2 separate regions of the Homo sapiens genome follow, and region 2 is linked to region 1. Evidence: promoter capture Hi-C in 16 types of primary human blood cells and fetal thymus (Javierre and others, 2016). All regions are on one chromosome and are shown on one strand. Each heading gives the region's core, a stretch centred on a gene start or on the middle of the fragment in contact. The rest is flanking DNA. Distances are from core to core; before and after follow the strand shown. Region 1 holds the start of BMP4 (bone morphogenetic protein 4). Region 2 overlaps LOC105370507 (a long non-coding RNA gene).

Region 1 (6,672 bases), core at 1,082-3,581:
ATAAAGCTGTCCCAAGAGAACTAAAGCTGAGTTCTCTCGTCATATATCTGAAGATTCATATCAGGGGTCTAAACATGGTATGTCGGGTAGCTTAATTGGAAACTCCTGGACTGTGAGTGTCACAGACTCATGGATGGGCCAATCAGTGGCCACTTTAGTGTCTGGGCTGCAGCAAAATGAGACAATAGCTGTCATTCAAAAACCTTTGGAATTAAAAAAACCCCGAAATGACATTGGTGCTTTAAAGTAAAATAAAGTCCTGCCTTTAAGTCCAGCATATCACTGTTGTTTCTGAGTTTAAATATTAAGAACCACATTTCGTTAATGATTAAAACAACAGTGATTGATTTAGGGGCTCAGTGAGCATTTAATCTGTCCTGACTTCAGGTACCATGCTAAAGGAGCACAATGCCTGATGCTGCAGGAGAAACATTAGGTAACTATTTAATGGAGTTTTAATTTTCTGTTATTATTTTTAATAATTAATTGTGATTTTGACTATTTGGAAGCTACAGGTATATTTTGTCCTCCTTTTGGGGTGGTGTTATTGCCCTGCCCTGTTTTAATCAGTGGTTCTTAGAGAAAGTGAACTCAGGAGTGACTTAAAATGAAGGAAGACGGACTTTGGCTAAAATTACAATTAAATAATCAAATCATTTTCAAATATAAAGGGAGCATGCAGATGATCTGGCCCAATCCTTTCATTCTGCAGATGAGAAAACTGAGACTCATAGGAATGAAAAGACTTGCCCAAAGCCATACAGCTTGTTTCTGTTGTTTGGTGCATTAGGCCAAAAGACCTAGGCCTAATAGATGGAAAAGATGGCAGGATGTCTTGGCCTTGCTCTGACAGTTGCTTCTCTGATCTCAGATATTTCCCACCCTTTGTAATCTGTGTTCCACACAGGAAGTAGTTCTTGTTTTTTAAATATCGAAGGTGTATAAACGTAAAGTTTTTATAGATGAGCCACCCAGGGCCAATATCTGTTTAAGTAAAGACCTAAATGCTTTGCAGAGACAGTAAAGTGTCATGTCTGTCCCAGGGAAAGAAATCCAGGACAGGAAATGCTCAGTCTTCCAGCACTCCTCTGGCTACCTGGAGCTCAGGCTATGAGCCTCAACCCCTCCCTGAAGCATTAGCTCTGGAGCAGAGGCTGTGATTTACTTCAGAGATCTGGGCAAGTCCCTTTAACCTGGTAGTCCTGCCTTTCCTTGTTTGTAAAACAGAGAGATGAGGCTGATAGCTCCCTCACAGCTCCATCAGAGGCAGTGTGTGAAATTAGTTCCTGTTTGGGAAGGTTTAAAAGCCACCACATTCCACCTCCCTGCTAATATGATTACTAAAATGTTTTTATATGAAAGGGCCAATTCCTCATCTCCCCTCTTCCTTTAAAAACAGACCAAGGGGCATCTTTTCTTGTCTCCCTGTGGCCTAAAAGGTTACTGCTTCTGTGGTTATCTCCTTGGAAAGACAGAGTGTCAGGACTCTTAGGTACACCAAAAATGAACAAAAAAATCAACAACAACCATAACACCAACAAAAATAACTGCTGTGTCGGTTCTTAAGACGGCTTCTGAGCTAGAAACAGATTTTTCTAACTGTAAAAAACGTGGCCCCAGCCTGTCTGCAGGCCACCTCTGTCTTTAGGCCTTGGGGGGAGGAGGGAAGTGAGCTCATTTACTGGGGTCTACCTCAGGGTCATCACCAAGGTGTTCTACAAAACGCACTTTAAGAATGTTTTGGAAGGAAATTCACCTTTTAACAGCCCAAGAGGTATCTCTCTCTGGCACACAGTTCTGCACACAGCCTGTTTCTCAACGTTTGGAAATCTTTTAACAGTTTATGGAAGGCCACCTTTTAAACCGATCCAACAGCTCCTTTCTCCATAACCTGATTTTAGAGGTGTTTCATTATCTCTAATTACTCAGGGTAAATGGTGATTACTCAGTGTTTTAATCATCAGTTTGGGCAGCAGTTACACTAAACTCAGGGAAGCCCAGACTCCCATGGGTATTTTTGGAAGGTACGGCGACTAGTCGGTGCATGCTTTCTAGTACCTCCGCACGTGGTCCCCAGGTGAGCCCCAGCCGCTTCCCAGAGCTGGAGGCAGCGGCGTCCCAGCTCCGACGGCAGCTGCGGACTCGGGCGCTGCCTGGGCTTCCGGGACCCGGGCCTGCTAGGCGAGGTCGGGCGGCTGGAGGGGAGGATGTGGGCGGGGCTCCCATCCCCAGAAAGGGAGGCGAGCGAGGGAGGAGGGAAGGAGGGAGGGGCCGCCGGGGAAGAGGAGGAGGAAGGAAAGAAAGAAAGCGAGGGAGGGAAAGAGGAGGAAGGAAGATGCGAGAAGGCAGAGGAGGAGGGAGGGAGGGAAGGAGCGCGGAGCCCGGCCCGGAAGCTAGGTGAGTGTGGCATCCGAGCTGAGGGACGCGAGCCTGAGACGCCGCTGCTGCTCCGGCTGAGTATCTAGCTTGTCTCCCCGATGGGATTCCCGTCCAAGCTATCTCGAGCCTGCAGCGCCACAGTCCCCGGCCCTCGCCCAGGTTCACTGCAACCGTTCAGAGGTCCCCAGGAGCTGCTGCTGGCGAGCCCGCTACTGCAGGGACCTATGGTGAGCAAGGCTACCTGGTGAGGGGAGACAGGCAGAGGGGGTCTAGGAGCCTCCTTGGGGGGAAGAAGCTGGTCACAGGCTGTGACCGAGGCAAAAGGTGGCCTAATTATTTTCCAATAGTGGTGCTGGAGGTGGGGATGCTGGCGCTGAAAGACCTTTAAATATCGGCTACTGCCCCTGCCCAGGCCTTCTCTGTCCAGCAGTCCCTGGGAGATTCTCACCTTTGGGAAGTGCGGGGCAGGAGAGCAGAAACAAGAGAAGCCCTTGGTAGGGGGGTCGTTGGGAAAAACTGTGGGGTCTTGGGCTGAACGCGTTGCCCACGGGCTGGAGGTTGCGATCCCCGGACGGAAAGCGCGGGAGGAGGAAGGAGAGAACCGGCTCTGAGGTCCAGAGAGAGTGAGGGGGCAGAGCGACGGCGAGATGGGGAGAGAACACCTAGCTGGAGCAGGTTCTGCGGTAGAGAGCGCAGTCCTGCTGGCCTCTGGAGAGTGCGCGCCGCTCCGGAGGCTGCGTCGAGGGGAGTGTCACCCAATCTGGCCCCCAGCTGGCGGGGCGCCCTGAGAGCTTGCGAACTGCAGTTGCAGGACGCGCCTTCTCCACGAGCTATTTTCGTCGACTTGCGGAACCCAAGGAACCTCGCCTCTATCATTTCACGGTGTAGGGTCCCTAGAGACGACAGCCAAGATCCCAGGGGCTCCCAGGACGCTTGTTCCTGCGGTGTCGTGTCCTATGGGGAGTTCCTGGCGGGACGAAAGGCGGACGCGCGGCTCTTCCTGGCCCTCCAGGCCCGGAACCGACGGGAAAGGTTCCCGTGATTCCCGAGTCCCTGCAGGCTTCTTCCAGCGGGAGTTGGTCCGGGGGCCTTAGAGGCCTCCAAGCACTGCTTTGGAGGATGGTTTCCAAGGATCGCGGTTTGTGAGTTGAAGGCTTTGTGAGAGGTTAAACCCCCAAAAGATACATACTTGGTAAACTGAGGCTACCTGTAAACACATTTCGGCATTAGGAGAAGATTCGAGTAGGGAAGTGAAGGACAACCACCCCGAGTTACATTCCTTTCCCCCAATAAAAAGCTCTGGGGATGAAAGTTCTTTTGGCTTTTATCTTTTCGATTTAAAAATTTGAGAAGAAAAATGTGACTAGAGATGAATCCTGGTGAATCCGAAATTGAAACACAACTCCCCCTTCCCCTTCCTATCCTCTCGGTTTTAGAACCGCGCTCTCCCGCCCCAGGAGATTCCTTGGGGCCGAGGGTTTTCCGGGGAACCCGGGCGCCCGCCCCTTCTACTGTCCCTTTGCCCCGCGGGCACAGCTTGCCTCCGTCTGCTTTCTCTACTTCTGGACCTCTCCTCGCCGGGCTTTTTAAAGGGCTTCTGCGTCTCAAAACAAAACAAAAAAACCCTTTGCTCTTCCCAACCCTTTCGCAGCCCGCCCCAGCGGTGGCGCGGGACCAGCAAAGGCGAAAGCCGCGCGGCTCTTGCCGGGCGCGGACGGTCGCGCAGGGGCGCCCGCGGCCTCCGCACCCGGACCTGAGGTGTTGGTCGACTCCGGGCATCCACGGTCGGGAGGGAGGGCTGAGCTGTTCGATCCTTTACTTTTCTTCCTCAAAGTCTACCTGCCAATGCCCCTAAGAAGAAAACCAAGTATGTGCGTGGAGAGTGGGGCGGCAGGCAACCCGAGTTCTTGAGCTCCGGAGCGACCCAAAGCAGCAACTGGGAACAGCCTCAGGAAAGGGAGGTCGGGTGGAGTGGGCTTTGGGGCAGGAGTCATGGGGCCCGGGCCCCGGGGACGACCTGGCGCTCCCGGCCCTGCTGAACGCTGAGTTGCGCCTAGTCGGGTTTTCGAAGAGGCCCTTGCGCAGAGCGACCCACGCGCGCGGCAGCATCTTCGATTAGTCAGGACATCCCAGTAACTGCTTGAACTGTAGGTAGGTAAAATTCTTGAAGGAGTATTTGCTGCGTGCGACTCTGCTGCTGGTGCAACGGAGGAAGGGGGTGGGGGAAGGAAGTGGCGGGGGAAGGAGTGTGGTGGTGGTTTAAAAAATAAGGGAAGCCGAGGCGAGAGAGACGCAGACGCAGAGGTCGAGCGCAGGCCGAAAGCTGTTCACCGTTTTCTCGACTCCGGGGAACATGGTGGGATTTCCTTTCTGCGCCGGGTCGGGAGTTGTAAAACCTCGGCCACATTAAGATCTGAAAACTGTGATGCGTCCTTTCTGCAGCGACGCCTCTTTCTGAATCTGCCCGGAGCTTCGAGCCCCGGCGTCTGTCCCTCAGCCTGGCATGGCTTCTTCGGGGGTCTGCTTTGCATGGGGAGAGGGGCCACGCAGCGGCGGACTAGGTTTGGGGATTCTCGGTAATGGACCCGGAGCAATGACTAACAGCCGCTCCCTCTCACTTTCCCACAGCGATCACCCTCTAACACCCTCCCTCCCATTCCCGGCCCCGCGCGTGACAAGGTCGGCTGCTTTCAGCCGGGAGCTAGATCGGTGGCCCGGCTCTTCGGAGCCTTAGCAGGCGTTCGCCAAGGGGTGACTGGCTGTCATTGGGAGCAATATTTGGCCTTGAGGAGACCCTGGGGAGGAAGTGGCGGGGAGCTCGTGTTTGCTTGTGTGTGTGTGGGGGGGTGTGTGTGTACACGCGCGTGGGCAGGGTCCCTCTGCGCTTTCCTTTTTAAGTGCCTCTCGGTGGTGAGGCTTTGGGCGGGTGAGACTTTCCCGACCTCGCTCCCGGCCCCACTTAAGCCGGGTTCGAGCTGGGAGACGCAGTCCCTTCAGTGCGCCCCAAATCCTCTGGCTTCAGGTGGCCCGGCGCGGGGGCCCAGCACGACGCACCGCGCCGAGAACCGGGTTCTCCGTGCGCTGCGCCAGTAGCCCTGGGAGCGCGGCGGCCGCGGGGCACCGGCCGAGGGCTCTGCCGAGCGCCGCCGGGAGCTCCTCCCGGACCGCTGAGGCTCGGGCGGCGGGCGCGGAGGTTGGCCTCGCCTGGAGGGGCGGGCCCGCGAGGGGCGGGGGGCTGTGGAGGAGGGGAGGGCGCGCAAGCCCTTTCGCCGCCTGCCGCGGGAGGGGCCTCGGCGCTCACGTGACTCCGAGGGGCTGGAAGAAAAACAGAGCCTGTCTGCGGTGGAGTCTCATTATATTCAAATATTCCTTTTAGGAGCCATTCCGTAGTGCCATCCCGAGCAACGCACTGCTGCAGCTTCCCTGAGCCTTTCCAGCAAGTTTGTTCAAGATTGGCTGTCAAGAATCATGGACTGTTATTATATGCCTTGTTTTCTGTCAGTGAGTAGACACCTCTTCCTTCCCCCTCCCCGGAATTCACTCTGCCCTCACCACCCCTGCTCGCCGGCTGTCCCTTCCGTCGGACCTCCTTTACAATATCCACACTCTGCTCCCTGGCAGCACTGTCGCTCCCTTCTTGGCCCGGCAGCCGGGGCGCTGGAAGCGTACGGGTTCCTTTTAAAGTGCTGCTAGCGCGCACTCGCCCTCTCAGCGTTGCAAGAAAGGGGAGCGCGAGGGAGCTAAAGAGATGAAAGCCCGGGGTTGTACCTTGAGGGCTAACCACTCCCTTCCCCTATCCAACTTGTCTGGGAGAGCCCCCAGTGTCTCCGTGGCGCGTTCCCACTCTCTTGTCAAAACTCACAGAGGTCTCTCCGGAATCGTCTCTCACCCCTTCCCTGGGGATGAGCGGGCACGATCAGGCACTTTTGGCTGAATATTTCAAACTCATCGGCCACAATAAAATAAGCCCTCAAGCCACCCGGTTAGCTCCCAGACCACCTTCTCGGCTTCTGGACCCTGTCGCCCTCTGTCTTCGCCCAGCCCCTGCCTCTCACTTTCCCTCCCTCTGGCTCTGAACCAACTGGAAGTTGTGAAAGTTGGGCTCTGAGGGTGGAGGAAAAGGGAGAGAAGCTGAAGGTCTAAAGTGGAGAGCAATGCCATTTTAATTCTCCCTCCCCCACCCCTTTTCACCCCCTCAATGTTAACTGTTTATCCTTCAAGAAGCCACGCTGAGATCATGGCCCAGATAGCAGTTAGGACAAAAAAAGATTAACAGGATGGAGGCTATCTGAT
Region 2 (6,672 bases), core at 1,649-4,148, 220 kb before region 1:
GGATCATGTATCTCCTCCCGGTTACAAAGCTGCCAGACCCCATCCCCGTGGGTGGAAATGGACACCAGCCCCCGAGGAAGTGATGGCTGCACTTGGGCGTCTGCTACCGCTGCTGCTTCCTCTCCTTCATAAGGAAGGAAACCGTGGGCTTTCCTGGGCATTTTTCTTATTCCCTTACACAGGGGAACTGGAGAGTCTTGGCCTTTGGAGTTTGAATAGTGAATCTAAGGCTGGAGGGGTTTCCAGAGAGCAGACAATTCCCATCTCTGAACTGTTGCTACTTTCTTCTTCCACCCCCCTTCCTGTGCTGTACAATTCATTCTATCTCCAGACTTTTAGTGTATAGTGTTAGAATGTCTTAATGGAGAGCCTGGAGCTGAAAGGCCCTGTACAACTTCTAGGTGGAGAAACCTAAATGGAAGGAAGGACTTGTGCCACTGTGATTTCCTCCTGCAAATGAAATGTAATTTGTACAAATAATCAAACTCTTCTTTTTTCTTTACCAGATTTGCACACCATATATTCAATGACAAGTCCTCTTGAAAGGTGATGGGAAGTGTTATTAAATTCCAAATATCTACTCCTCATCTGATAAAGCCATTCTGATGTTTGCAGTATGAATTTGATTTGCAGTTAGAATTCCCCACATTGAATACAAATCCCAAACAGCAAATTCAGCTCTGAATCTCTGGAAAATAGCATGTAATGGGTGGATCGATCCAACTAGAGTGTAAATTTGAGGTGCCGTGTGCTTTATCTGAGCATTAACAATTTATTCAGACCATTTTGTGTCCCATTTCCCACCCAAGCAAGTTGAGAACACTACATTTGCTTTTTACTTTTTTCCCTTCATGTTATGACACAAAATCGTTTCTCCAGTTTCAATTACTTTGATGATTGCAGCAGCAATGATTAAGAGAAAATACATCTTTGAAAGGGGCAGAAATATGGTAAGCCTTTCCCACTGATGGTAGCTAAAAAGCATATACTAAACAACTACAGAATACCCAGCACATTGATGGGTGCTGTGTGGTACAGAAAGAAGAAACAAGCCCCATAGGAGCTCACTGCAGACATATCTGAGTGAAGGAGTAAAGGGTTGGAGCTCAGGAAAGGGAAAAGCATATCATCATCTCATTGCTGGACTCTGATCCCTTAAAGCCCAAGTTGAGGAGGAAGTGGTCAGAAGAAAAGTGTATTTTTAGCCCCCTCCCATTTTAGAGACATTCTAAGATGGAGCTAGCAGGAGGAGAAGGATAGATATGGGATGGCAAACTGGTTTATTTGCAATAGGCTGGTTTTAATTCTCCACAGTAGTGAGTTTGAGGGCAATGCAATGCAAAGGACAACTTATTTATTTAATGTTAGGTTATAAGCAACCTTGAAGGCAAAAATCCTCCTCTTTTTGTCTTTTTATTTTTTTTTAACCCTCCATAGTATCCCGTCCAAAGGCAGCAGGTAAGTGGTAGGGTCCAGCCCTCAAAGAAGCTGATATTCTCCACCCACCTCCGTATACACTTGTAAGTTGAGAGCCAAATCCTCTGTCAGACACATTTTCCTTGTCAAATCATGCCCGTCCCACCTCACTGACACTGATAGTCCTGGGAGCCAATTCTGATGCCAACCTGTGTTGAACTCCTAGATGTGAGTGCACTTTCTTGAAGGGCAGGTTGGGCTAAAACTTGACCTTTGGGAGCTTTGAGAGGTGGGAAGAGGAGCAGAGGGCTGCCGGGGAGAGAGAGATTTCCTGGTTATTGCTATAGGGAGTCTGTTTACTTGCCTTCAAGGGTCACAGGCATCTGAATGGACTTCTCTGGCTCTGCTCTTGGGTTTGATTTCAGAGGACTTGGTCCTGTGGAATTCCACTCCCCATCGACCCTCCCCTTACTGTTAGGTATGGGACTTTTATTCCACAGTTATGACTCAAGCCTTCCTGAGGAGCACTGCAGCTTTCTTGCAGCAGCAGCAATTGGAAAGGCTGTTTTAAGTGGAGTTTACTGTTGTTGTATAAACCTTCATTTAAAATTGACTATAAAGTGTTTCTGAACCTGCCAAACACGCATTAAAATATTTTGCTCCATTTATGCCTATGTGTAACATTTGGTTTCTAAAAAGCTTTAATCAGTAATCTTCAAGTAGGAAGTTATTCATCTTTATTGCCAGTCGGTTCTCAGTGGTGGTCGTGGCAACAATCTTTTTATTGCTTCTGTGTTTAGTTGTTCTTTGACATGATAGAAGTCAGCCGCAGTTCAATGAGCTCACTATTTGTGCAACTTAATTGCTTGCTTCCTTCAATACATACTAAATTTTTCCTTTTATGAGCAGGGCTGTTGGAAAAATTAAGCTTAAGGATATAGCCATCCACTTTTAATTAACCTCCTTCCCAAACACATTAGTAAAATAGGTCAAATAACTGCTGAGTGCTAAGTGTACTGTTACTAAGGTCCTCCTCGGCTGAGAAGTGAATCCTGTATTAAGTGGACAAATATTGGAGCGTTGAGTATTTTCTGGAAGCCATGATGACATAAGAATAATGCTTTATAACAGTATTCTCTGCTGCACCATCTCCTCTAGGTTGTATGTATGGTTTGACTTTATCTGGCTCTACCATGGTTTTAGGTTATTTCGTTACATCTGTGTGAAATAAATAAAATATTTCTTTGGGTTTTGTTTTGTTTTTTGCTTTCTAGGTTATTGCTTCTTTTAAAGGGGGACCCAAAATTCAGCTTTTCCTTTTAGTAGTAACCCTGCTCTTATTTTGATTCACAATTCTTAGAATAATCTGGATATGTATAAATGCTTGTGATGAGTACAAAAATATGCTCAGTGAGGGAACTAATCTATCAAAATAGATTTATATAGAACTCTTATAATTCCTCTCCATGTCAGGGTTATATTCAGATGGAAAATCACTTTAATTGCAGCGGTGAAGGGCAGATTGGAGCTTTGCCAGCTTGACAGAAAATATTTTGAAGTTTATAGACCAAAAGAAAAAAAGAAAACGTGACAGTTTCCGAATTTGGCAGAAGGCAGGAAAATGTCAGGATATAGTTTATACTTTTAGAAAGGGGAACACAAAAGCAAAGACAATTAAAATGGGAGAATGTGCCAGATAGAGCTAAAGGTGAACATTTGTGATCTCTGTCCTCTATCTGCAGTTCCATGTTTAGCCTTTAAATGGGAGTGAGTGAAGAGTGAAGAGAAAAAGGAAACCCCCTCAACTGAATGCCAATAGACACAATAATTTCTTAAAAATGATTACTCAGTTATAATCTAATCTAAATCTTGCAGATTCATAGGTAGAGAATCTACGTTTCTCAAATAATCTGTTCTGATAAAATGACTACGTTTCTCAAATAACCTGTTCTGATAAAATGACTACGAGTTGGGTCAATACTTGTCCAGTGTATTTGTACCTCCTGACTTGGGTATATTTTCTGCATTAAGCTTAGTTATTGAGAAGCTTCTTGCAGCACCTTTTTTTCACTGTCGCATCAGAATGTCAGCGAATTGATGATATTCTGAACAGAATTGATGATGAAATGGTAAACTTTGTGGATCTTAGTTCGCCCACCTGCTAAAGAGGGGTAATGACCCTGTGCCAGTCTACACCCCAGGGGATTGTTAAAAAAGTTGATTAATCCTTGTCAGGAGTCTTAAGGCAAAAACATTTTCCCTGTGCCTTACTGTACCCCATCATGATGAGGCTTGCAGGAATGACTTCTTATTCGTTAGTTGTTAGTTATTTCTTTATATATATATATATTTTTTTTTTCGGAGTCTTGCTCTGTTGCCCAGGCTGGAGTGCAGTGGCACGATCTCAGCTCACTGCAACCTCAGTCTCCTGGGTTTAAGTGATTCTCTTGCCTCAGCCTCCCAAGCAGCTGGGATTACAATCACGCACCACCACACCTGGCTAATTTTTGTATTTTTCTGTAGAGACAGGGTTTCACCATGTTGGCCAGGCTGATCTCAAACTCCTGACCTCAAGTGATCCGCCCACCTCGGCCTCCCAAAGTGCTGGGATTACAGGCATGAGCCACCGCGTCCGGCTAGTTGTGGGTTCTAAAGGTTATTCTCTCTTATCTTTTGCCTGGTTAAGGCCTAAGATGCGAATGGCGATTGTTGACACATGGGAAATAGTTGAACCATCTGAAAGGTTAAGTATGGGAAGGGAGCACTGCATTTTCACATGCCTGCAGATGCTCTGGTGCCTGTCATTTCTGTGCTGGTCCACAGACTTCAGGCTGGGGTGGAGAGGGAGACTGTAACTTTTGGTGAAGGAAGAGCTGCTATGAATCAAAGTCAAGGGACTGAGTTAATGCTTTATTCCTGTCTAAACAATTAAGATGGCAAATTTCATACCTTTGGAAAGTTGAAAATACTTGTCTAAGAAAAGAAAAAAAAAGTGGAAGTCTAGGATTGACAGGTACGAGGAAATAAAGGATTTTGGAAACTTTCTGAGGCATTTAGTCTTGGTAATCATTTTTTTTTTGTATTCTTACACAGAGCCCTATTGCCAAGCTGCCTGAGGCAAATTTGCATGTGTTAGGTTTAACTCAGGCAACTTAGGTTTGCCTTTAAAATAGCCAAAACTTTGCCTCAGCATATGTTGGGTCATGTTAACCCTTCATGAATTGACATTTTGCTCATTTCATGGATTTGTCCACTATGGCTGTGGCTTTTCTAGCAGTCATTGGTAGACTTTAATTAAACAAATCCCGGAGGGAGACCTTGGAGCCACAAAAATACTTTCTACAACCAGCAGGTGGCACTGTGGATACTACAGTGGTGAAGAAACTGGGATATAGGAGGCAAAGATGAAAGCGGGGAGAACTCGGATAATGAGATAATATAAGCTAGTCTACAGATCTTTGAGAGGTTAACAGGGCATCTCAGAAAGCTATAAACCAGTCTCTGAATGTGGAAGGCTGCCATGGATTTGCCTTATAAGAACATTTCTCTGATTTTTAAAGTCTTTCCAGTGATACAATTGATATCTGCTTAAATTCTACTTATATGCTACTGCCCTGAGTTGAAAAACAAACTTGAACAGAAGATTTTTAGGTAATTTTAGAAATAAACATTTACACATATTCTAAAACCATAGCATGTAAAATAGGAACTCAAGCCTGGTGTATATAAAGTATTAAAAATTACATTTCATGCTTAGAGAATATTATTCACTAAGGAAACATGTTAATTTGATTTATTTTATTATATTAAAGAGATAGTAAGGACATTTTCTTGACCTGCATTAGCTTCTGCATTCTTTGTTGTCTATGATTCTCTTTAAGAATTTATTTGAAAGAGACTTCTGTAAATCAACTTTTATAACATACTTTTTGGGGTAAAGTTTGCTTCTTTGGAAGTTCATGTAGTGATTTATCTAGGTAATCAAATTGAATTCAGAGGTGGCAACGATTATTTACTTCCAAGTGAAATCTTCTTGAGATAGTAGGAATTGTCCATACTACCAGGGTTCTTTTGTGAGGGTTGGTGCTTTTTTCTTTTTTCCTGAGACATCAGAAGAAAACTTCTTTTGTAGCTTAGACCAGAGGCAGAGGCAGGTCCTGAGAAGGAAATGTAATTCCTCTCAATAAACATTTCCTAAGCTAAGGCCTCTTGGGAACACTGGCCTTTCTGCAGAAATGTGGACTTCTCTCCCTGACAAATTTATGCTCTCTGGGGGCAGATGTTTGAGCTACTTTTCCTCTCTGCCTCCAGCGGTAGAAAACAATTGTGTCCCTATGCTGGTGGAGTCCATTGTTCCAGAGGAAAGCTGAGGGGTTTGTGAATATGTGGAGGACTGCTGTAGAAATCAGTAATAGATTGATTATCGCATCCTACCTGAGGGCAAGGAACTGGGGATGGAAGTGGGAAGAGGAACAACAAAGCTAGATTTAGGATAAGGTGGCAGAACTTGAGATCTGACAGTGGCAGGTCAGAGTCTTAGGGGCCAGTTATAGTGACCTTAGACTCTTGCCCAAGTTCAGAACCTTACATGTTCTAGCCTGCCCGGTCTGGTGGGAGCTGAGGCAGCCATCTGGCTGAGTTGCTGAGGGAGGATGCTGTGAGTGGTCTCTCCACGTGACTGGAAAGTTTGACCAACTGAGGGGACCCAGGAATGGAAACCAGTTTACTGTATATTCAGAAACAGGGATATTTCTGATTCACCAGGGCAGGCCTCTCTCCTATTTCTTGGAACAGATTCCCTTCTTCTGAGTCTGGAGCCTGGGCAGTGCTTGAGCAGCAACAAGGAGCATAAGTTTCCTGTCACTTCCTCTTTGGCAGGTTGTGTCTGCAGACACTGGCTCCCATACCCCATAATTACTTTTTCACATTTTTTAATATAGTAACACATGGTTGGGCTTGTGGTGGGGGAACCAAGTGATGCCTCCAGGCCATGAACACTATAAATAACTTCAGGGATCATTTTATACGGTTAGGGAAGGAAGCAGCTTCTTTCTTAAGAAATAGCTTCAAGCAAAGAAGCAGGATTTAGGAACAAATAACTTTTATTTTCAAGAGCCCCTTTGCCTTTTCTATTTCTCTACAGATCAGCGATCTTATTGGTATTAATTTGTCTTCTCACCAGCCTTTCTTATACCACTTTTCAGCTTAGAGTGGTGATTGTAGCCATCTCGTCATATAGAGAAAAGTACATACATT

Evidence for each region. Contacts are between HindIII fragments. The CHiCAGO score rates a contact against its expected background, and 5 or more counts as called.
Region 2: a fragment that was not itself captured here is called in contact with the fragment with the promoter of BMP4 in region 1 in 2 of 17 cell types (endothelial precursors and fetal thymus); the score reaches 11.3 in endothelial precursors.

Annotation. Positions count from the first base shown.
Region 1 is chr14:53,952,484-53,959,155 of GRCh38, reverse strand. It overlaps BMP4 (bone morphogenetic protein 4), which reads left to right and starts at 2,331. Exons shown (of 4, transcript NM_001202.6): 1 at 2,331-2,606; 2 at 5,756-5,880. LOC124903317 reads right to left here and starts at 4,974. Exons shown (of 2, transcript XM_047432035.1): 1 at 2,828-4,974. The coding sequence starts at 3,255. RefSeq lists silencers at 2,369-2,448, 3,098-3,207, 5,407-5,496, 5,547-5,616 and promoters at 1,163-2,505, 387-2,505, 4,408-4,728, 3,433-4,728, 4,900-5,400. The HindIII fragment of the contact is 12,206 bases long and covers 1-6,672 here.
Region 2 is chr14:54,173,617-54,180,288 of GRCh38, reverse strand. All of the region lies in intron 4 of LOC105370507 (a long non-coding RNA gene), which reads left to right. Among named protein-coding and RNA genes, the nearest start is that of CDKN3, 220 kb to the left of the region's middle. RefSeq lists a silencer at 2,104-2,398. The HindIII fragment of the contact is 1,103 bases long and covers 2,347-3,449 here.